3 separate regions of the Homo sapiens genome follow, and all the other regions are linked to region 2. Evidence: promoter capture Hi-C in human tissues and cell types (Jung and others, 2019). All regions are on one chromosome and are shown on one strand. The core of a region is centred on a gene start or on the middle of the fragment in contact, and the rest is flanking DNA. Distances in the headings are between cores, read along the strand shown.

Evidence for each region. The method cuts DNA at HindIII sites, captures the fragments that hold promoters and counts their contacts. A contact is called where the count stands out against the background at its distance.
Region 1: a fragment that was not itself captured here is called in contact with the fragment with the promoter of MRPL46 in region 2 in 2 of the 25 tissues and cell types used here (H1 embryonic stem cells and IMR-90 fibroblasts).
Region 3: a fragment that was not itself captured here is called in contact with the fragment with the promoter of MRPL46 in region 2 in 2 of the 25 tissues and cell types used here (mesendoderm cells and neural progenitor cells).

What each region holds. Positions count from the first base shown.
Region 1 is chr15:88,796,332-88,799,031 of GRCh38, forward strand. It overlaps LOC105370960 (a long non-coding RNA gene), which reads right to left. Exons shown (of 3, transcript XR_001751648.1): 2 at 2,325-2,473; 3 at 131-1,573. Among named protein-coding and RNA genes, the nearest start is that of ACAN, 5.8 kb to the right of the region's middle. The HindIII fragment of the contact is 7,841 bases long and covers 1-2,700 here.
Region 2 is chr15:88,466,138-88,468,837 of GRCh38, forward strand. It overlaps MRPL46 (mitochondrial ribosomal protein L46), which reads right to left and starts at 1,251. Exons shown (of 4, transcript NM_022163.4): 1 at 1,013-1,251. The coding sequence starts at 1,240. MRPS11 (mitochondrial ribosomal protein S11) reads left to right here and starts at 1,571. Exons shown (of 6, transcript NM_022839.5): 1 at 1,571-1,645; 2 at 1,771-1,887. The coding sequence starts at 1,581. RefSeq lists enhancers at 1-785, 1,252-1,421. The HindIII fragment of the contact is 11,540 bases long and covers 1-2,700 here.
Region 3 is chr15:88,749,157-88,751,977 of GRCh38, forward strand. No RefSeq gene overlaps it. Among named protein-coding and RNA genes, the nearest start is that of ACAN, 53 kb to the right of the region's middle. The HindIII fragment of the contact is 5,029 bases long and covers 1-2,821 here.

The DNA of each region.
Region 1 (2,700 bases), core at 87-2,586, 330 kb after region 2:
GATCTTGTGAGAACTCACTCACTATCACGAGAACAGCCAGGGGGAAATCCACCCCCACGATCCAATCACCTTCCACCAGGTCCCTCCCCCAACACTGGGAATTACAATTCAACATGAGTTTTGGGTGGGGACACAGAGCTAAACCATATCAGGCAGCTTTCTAAACATTCCTGTCTTCAGTTTCTTCATCTGTGAAATGGAGTTAGTGAGACTCCCTACCTCATAGGGTGATTGTGAGGTCTGTTGAAGCGCATAGCACAAGGCCTGGTAGGCAGTAAGAGCTCAATAAGTGTTACCCTAAAGGGAAGAAAATCCTGACATATGCCGCAATATGACTGAACCTGGAAGACATGATGCTAAGTGACTAAGCCAATCGCAAAAAGACAAATTTGGCGCTAATCCACTTACATAAGGTACTGACAGTAGTTAAATTCATAGAGACACAAAGTAGAATGGTGGTGGCTACGGGCAGAGGGTAGGGGTAATTAGGAATTATTATTAAATGGGTACATAGTTTTCATTGCAGAAGATAAAAAAAGTTTTGAAGATGGATAGTAGTGATGATTATATAACAATGTGAATGTACTTAAAGGCACTGAACTGTATGCTTAAAATGGTTTAAATGATGAATTTTATATTATGTATATTTTACTACAATAAATAAGTAAATAAATATGGCCATAATAATGAGGCTGTGTCAGCCCATGGAGGAACTGGCATTCCATTTTTTTGAACTTGAGAATTTGAGACTAGATAGAGTACTCTCAGCATTTTGGAAATGCCTGTTGGTAATGTATTTGGTAGAAGACTATTTTAAGACTGTAATGCTAACAAGTAAATGTCCTAAGAATAAAAGGTAACCCAGCTAAGTACTGATTTTTTTCCTTACATATTCTTCATTTTCTCCCCTTAAAAAAATATGCCCTAAAAAAAAAATACAGCAATAACAACCACTAAAATGTCAGGAAGACTATTCCCCCGCACTATAATATCAAATGAGTGGCAAGTTTTGTGGGGAAAAGTCATGCCCACATCTTAGCAGATCATTTTTAAGCTATGGGGATGCTGCCTGCACCTCTTCTATTTCAATTCTAGCAAATGTTCATGAGATATCATTTCTGCTTATTTTATAAGTGTATATTCTGTATCTATACCATCATGTGTGGAAATCTGGGACAACAATTTTTCTGAATAATCTAATATTTACCACTGAAAGAAACTAAAAATATCAAGCCCAATGTGACAAAGGTTGAGAAGCCAGTCCCAAAAGACTCTAATGGCTGGAATAAGGAAAAGAATAGAGAAGAGCCAGCTACGATCTGGAGTGCGGGAGCCCCTTAGGGTTCGGGGTCAGGGAGAGAAGGTGAGCAGGATCGCATGAGCCTCAGGGGCTGGGGCTGCCAGGAAGTACAAAGCCTAAATCCTCCGACTTCTCTTCTTATTCCAGACTTGCTTGGAAAAAGCTGTTGATGATGATGATGATGATGATGGTGGTGGTGGTGGTTGTGATGATGGTGGTGGGATGGATGCTGATGATGATGGTGATACGTAACATTCCACTCAGCATCACTCACTGAGTATTCTCAATGATAAAAAAAAAAACACTAGTGAGTAATGAATAAAATGCTTGCCATAATTTCCTCTTTTATAAATGGTAGGGTTTTACTAAAAATAAGAATCTGCTATGAATTCAGAAAAAAAAAATTGAAACTGAAGCTTTAAGAGAGTTTCCTTAAACGTGCCCTTCAATTTCTATGTCTTTGGTGACACAGCACTTTCCCGTTACTGTATGTCATTATTCCACACAGACCCGTGGAGGCTTGTGAGTGTTTCATTAACTGTCTCCATGTTCTTTATTATAACATTTCCCTCCTACTTTGCCACTAGTACAGTGTTAAAGTAATAAAACAGCACTTTTCAAGTGTTCCACTAGTTCTCACTAGACTCCACTCCCTGGCCCAGTTCTGCTATAAGAAGGCTTTTCTATATCATGTTTCTATGGCCCTTTGCTTCCAAAAAGGATCACAACGTTCTCTACACATATTACATATAGTATTCATTGTTGCCACACTCCTATGAGGTGGGTATTTTTAGCTTCTTTTACAAACACAGAAAACAGCACACAGGAGAGAATGTACTTACTCAGGCACACCAAATTGTGGGGGCTAGGGGGAAGGAAGAAAATTAACCATCCTTGCACTTTGAGCCAGATCAGTTACTAGGGGCTGACATTCCATATCTTATTTTAATTCTCACAACAATTCCATAAGATAGCTCCATTTTACAGATGTGAAACCAAAATCCAGAGAGGTTAAGAAACTCACCCAAGGTTCCCATGCCAGACCTGGGATTCACATCCAGTGCTCCCGATTACACAGGGAATCTCCTTGCTCCACAGCTCTCTTTGTTGCTTGAGATACACAGGAATCCCTTTCACGGGGGCCCGCATGGAAACAGTCTTCATTTTAATTGCCTGCAAGATTAAATATCAAGCAACAGTGAGATGTAGTTCTGAAACTCAACGATGTTTGGCCATACCGGTAGGAGCAGAATATCCAAATGGTTAGAGAAAAGAGTTGTCCTGGCTCCCCTCTAATCAGTCCACACCTGGGCTTGTGCATCTAATGCCGGGCATTGCATTTTTGAGGGGCATCCACAAACAAGGTTCGCAGAGAGTGAGGAATCCAGAAGCAAACTCCA
Region 2 (2,700 bases), core at 1-2,500:
TGTTCCTTCTTCCTAGAATGTTTTTCCTCACATTCTTTCTTCTGGGAGAGTCCTACTCATCTTTCTGATTTCAATTTAAATATGACTGTCTCAGAGAGACATTTCTCATAAAGAGAAAAACCTGTATTCAGAAAGTCTGAGGCATTCCTTGACACTCACCATAAAATCAAAATGTGATGTATTTGTTAAACACTCTTATAGTGCCTTGTGTTTTCCTTAACAACACTTATCAGGGTCTGCATTTAGTTGTATGATTATTTGGTTACTGACTGATCCCCTCACTCAACTAGACTGAAGTACTCTGAGAACCAGAGCTACTTCTGCCTTATTCATTACAGCATCTCTATCACTTAACATACTCTCTGATGCATAGTATGGGCACAATGAACATCTGTAGGTTGAGTAACAAATATTTGTCAAGCGAGCGAGTAAATGAATAAATCAAGCAAAAAGCACAGAAGAGAAGTTTATAGTTCTCAACAGACCAAGACAAAAACATCTCGGATTCTGAGGAAACATATCACCCTTCAAACACTTTCTGTAGCGACCTCACACCTTCACAGCCACTACACTGTTTTTGCCCATGCTTCCTCACTTGCCCCTCACACAGATAGCCCCATGAGATAAAACAGAGTAGGCTTATCATAGGCATCTGACAGATGTGCCCACCGCCTCTTGTATTTCCTTCTTAACATTCATCACATCACAAAGACTTTCTCCCTCCAGACTTGTAAGCTCCTAGTGACACGGACCGATTCTTGTTCACCACAGGATCCCTATTGTGTTGCATGAACAAGAAGTAGAGTATCTCCAAAGAGTTGTCTAAGGTGACAATAAACACGGCCAATGAAAAGAAACCACTTTTTGTTGAACATCTATGTACCAAACCAAGTCAGTAAGGTAGGTACCATTCTGCGGATAAGTACCGTATACTTAAGTTCAGAGAGGTGAAATTACTCGCTCAAAGTCACGCAGAATAAACGTCACTCTGAACCCTGCATCTCAGTCCCACCTGCTGCAGTAGAGACGCCATCTCTTCCTGCAATGGGGTCAACGGCTTGGAGACTACAGGTGGCCGCTGCAGGCACAACGCGCCCAACAAGCGCCATGGGGATCCGTTGCTTGAGGGTGCGGCTGCAAGAGCCAGGCTGCGAGAGCTTAGACTGCCGGCCCAGAGCCTCTCGAACCGCCGCCAACCCCCCGCCACCCCTAACAGCGTCCGCCTTACGGGCGCCGCCATCTTTCGTTCTCCCACAATGCACCGCGGCTCCCAGGGATCCCTCAGCCGCGGGAGCGGCAAACTAGGGGAAAGCTCAGTCCCGGAACTGCTAGAACGAACCATTCGCATATGGAGGGGGTGACCCACCATCTCAGAACATTAAAAAAGGGAAAGAATCCCCTGGTGAACTACAGTGAAAGTCTTATTGAGCATTTAAATGGAAATAAAAATATTCAGTGGACCTAATGAAGAGTAGATGACTTTCCCTTCTGTCCCCTCCCCGACAGGCACTCATGGTACCGGCGCCGGCGCAGCTGTGACTGTCGCTGCAGACGGAAACTGACTGGGGTCAATTCAAGTCATGCAGGCTGTGAGAAACGCGGGGTCGCGGTTCCTGCGGTCCTGGACTTGGCCCCAGACAGCCGGGTAACAAATGACTGCCCCCTCGAGCCCACCGCCACCTCCAGGACTATGCTCCTACTCGTGTCCCTTGAGCCACCCGGGCCCCAGTGACCGTTAGGCCGTGGCCCTCACCGAGCTTTTCTTCCCAGCAGGGTCGTGGCCAGAACGCCGGCCGGGACCATCTGCACAGGCGCTCGACAGCTCCAAGACGCTGCGGCCAAGCAGAAAGTTGAACAGAACGCGGCTCCCAGCCACACCAAGTTCAGGTGAGCCCCACTTGGACCAGCCCTCTGGAGACCCGCAACCCCTGACTCTTGCCCGACACCCTCCAGAGTCAGAACCAGTGAATTTTCAGCTATGTCACTTGCTATCCGTGGGACCTTATGCAAATAAATCTGAGCCTCAGCCTTCTCATCTAAAAATGCGGATAATGCTGAGAGAGGTTGTGAGAATCAGATGAGCCGTGGTACAGAGTAAATGTTCAGTGAACATTCGTTAAATCAATGAGTGAATGTGAGATATCCATAACATGTATCAGCGTTCTTTTCTTCTGAGATGGAGATCTTTTCAGACCAATAACCTTCCCTGCCTCCAAAACAAAATGGGGAGGTAGAGGGCGCTAGCGATGGAACAGATGTTCCTGCACGTCTTACGGATGGTCCAGGGTGGGTTTTGTGCTCAGCCCTAGGAACTGGCATCTTGCTTCCCACCAGTGCCACCACCTCTGTATGCTGTATACACATCCACTTAACTTCACATCCATTTAACAAACATTTACCAAGAATCTACTATGAGTGAGACACCATGCTAGGTGCCGTGAATACAGATACAAAAGATCATTCCTCCCCACAAGTAGTTCACAGTCTTTGAGGGAAGACAAACATGCAAACATTTTAACCATAATCTGCTCAATAATATAATGGAGGTAAGCATTGGTTGGAAGTATGAAATCATAAGTGTCTAACTCCTGGCCGGGTGCAGTAGCTCATGCCTTTAATCCCAGCACTTTAGGCGGCCAAGGTGGGCGAATTACTTGAGGTCAGGAGATCGAGACCAGCCTGGCCAACATGGCGAAACCC
Region 3 (2,821 bases), core at 273-2,772, 280 kb after region 2:
GCTGGAGAGCTTCCACTGTTAGAAAAATGCACAGTCTGGGTCGGGCGTGGTGGCTCACGCCTATAGTCCTAGCACTTTGGGAGGCCAAGGCAGGCAGATCATTTGAGGTCAGGAGTTCAAGACCAGCCTGACCAACATGGTGAAACCCCCGTCTTTACTAAAAATACAAAAAATTAGCCATGCATGGTGGTGCACGCCTGTAATCCCAGCTACTTGGGAGGCTGAGATAGGAGAATGGTTTGAACCTGGGAAGCGGAAGCTGCAGTGAGCAGAGATCGCACCATTGCACTCTAGCCTGGGCGACAGAGCGAGATTCTGTCAAGAAAAGAAAAGAGCCCAGTGTGCCTTTGCGTAGTGATAGGCTTTGTAGTCAGTGATCATGCCTGCCCTGGTCTTCTCTACTCCAAGCTAGTCACCATCACCTTCCTCACACTTTCCCTCCTATAGCAAGGCCTCCAGTCTTCCCACCAGTATCAATCTCTTCCAGAGGCTTTTAGTCTGTGCACATATTGCTTCAAATATTGTGCCAACAGTTTGGCAATATTGCCCTTTGACTTGAAAATTAAAAGTCCCTCTTTTCTAAGAAAAGGCTATTTGTTCTCCAGCCATAGTAACAACTAAGCAGCACAAAGGATTTAAAACCTGACGTGCTACCTTGTCTTCAGTCTCACTGAAATCCATGCTCCTGAATCAGCCAATCATAAATGGCACATGATTCTGAAAGTCAGCCAATCAAAGATAGCTATATGCTTCTGCCATCCAATCAGCAATAGCTGCACTCTAATAACCACACCTCCTCAATTTAAGGTCAGCCAATCCCTTAATTCTCACTCTTGAAATTCTATTAATCCTTGAATTCCGTGCTTCCTCCAAACTTTGTTCAGAAAGACTGTCTCAAAGCACAATTTTCTCTTACTTTACAAACAGTAAATCCTGCTTTTTGTTTCAAGTTTTCACTATTGCCTTCTTCCTTTGATATCCCTAACAATTGTCTTTTCTAGGAGTTTATCCTAAGAAAATAACCAAGCATATGTGCAAAGATTTAGCATTAGAGATGACTTCGTTTATGATGGAGAAGCAGCATGTGTCCAACAGTAGCCTATTAGGTATAAATTTTGATATTTCCATCAAATGGAATAAATGCTAAAATAACCATGAAAAATCAAGTTGTGGCAGATTATTTTATTTTATTGATATGGGAAAATGTCCAAGACATGTTAGTGGAAAAAGCAGATTGTAATGTAGTATTTATAATATGATTCCAATTTTATGAAGTATTTAAGTATATATGTATAGGAAAAAAGACTAGAAGGATATATAGGAAGCCATCAATAGTTATTATAGGAGCTAGGATTACAGGCAATTTTCCTTCTTTCAATTTTCAGCATTTTCTTAATTTTCTGCAATGATACACATATTGCTTCTGTAATTTAAGAGAAAAGAGCATTTTTTAAAAGTAATATCCAGAATAGAACACAATCCACTGATGAGTGCAGAGAGCAAGACCGAGTACAGACAAATGCCTCCTTGATAATGCAGATACCGAATCTGATCATGTATCACATGCAGCTCCGTAATGCTGTAGGCACATATTGAGTTCAAGGTTAATTACATCCTCCTTGTTCTTTCCTCTTGTATACTCCCAGTCATGACCTCTCAAGTGCAATTTGTTAAAATTGAACTCATTTTCCTCTGGTTCCCTGCCTGCTCTGTCTACATATCCCCTCCCAACACAAACACACACACACACACACACACACACACACACACACACACACACCTTTCACCAAAGCAAGCTCTCCACAATCCTAAGTCCTCCCAGGCCTTCAGGCTCTTCTTCCCTTTGCATCCTGTCCCTTAACAAGCCCTCCAGATATTCTTCCAGAATGCCCTGTGCATTCGCCCCCTTCTGCCAAAACTCTACTTCAACTTTTCCTACCCGATAAGGTATATCAGACTGGCAACCTGAGAACCAAACATTGCCCCAAACTAGTTTTTCTTGACCCACATACTATTGAATTATAGACCAACAATTATGGATTAAGAGGCTTCACATAAAAATACAAAATTCTGGCCTCTTACTAAAATAAAACAAAACAAAATGCTATGTTGAAGTTGAGAAGTGACTTCCCCTTTAGACACAGCTAATCCCTTCCAGTTTTCCACAGTCTCCAGCACTCCCTATTGCACCTCTAATACCAAGAGTTCCAGAGGTCATTTAATGTCAAACTTGCTCAGTTGTTTTTCTTGCACAGTCCCCGTGGGCATTTGAGTGTGTGACCCTGACCTAGATTCAATGAATTTTAGTCGCAAGCAGCCTTCAAAATCCTTTTAGAGTAGAAATATCTTCTATATATTTTTAAAATAGCATTTTATCTTTGTTCTAATTAATTACAAAATGATAAATTGCCTAAGAATTGATAAGGTAGAAAATGCATCTCAGCTTTCCCTTTTTATCTCTGAACAAACAAGAAAAGGAAGACTGAGGCTGGGCACAGTGGCTCACACTTGTAATCCCAGCACTTTAGGAGGCCAAGGCAGGAGGATTGCATGAGGTCAGGAATCTGAGACCATGCCTATGGTCCAAGCTACTCAGGAGGCTGAGGCAGGAGGATCATTGAGCCCAGGAGATTAAGGCTGCAGTGAGCCATCATGCCACTGCTCTCTAGCCTGGGTGACAGAGCAAGACCTTGTCACAAAGAGAAAAAGAAAAGGAAGACTAAGTTGACCACATAATACAATATTTTGTTTCTTAAGTTGCACTAGCTGAAATGGTCTTTTATTTTTAAAAACCATACATTTCAGCTTTCATCTACATGTT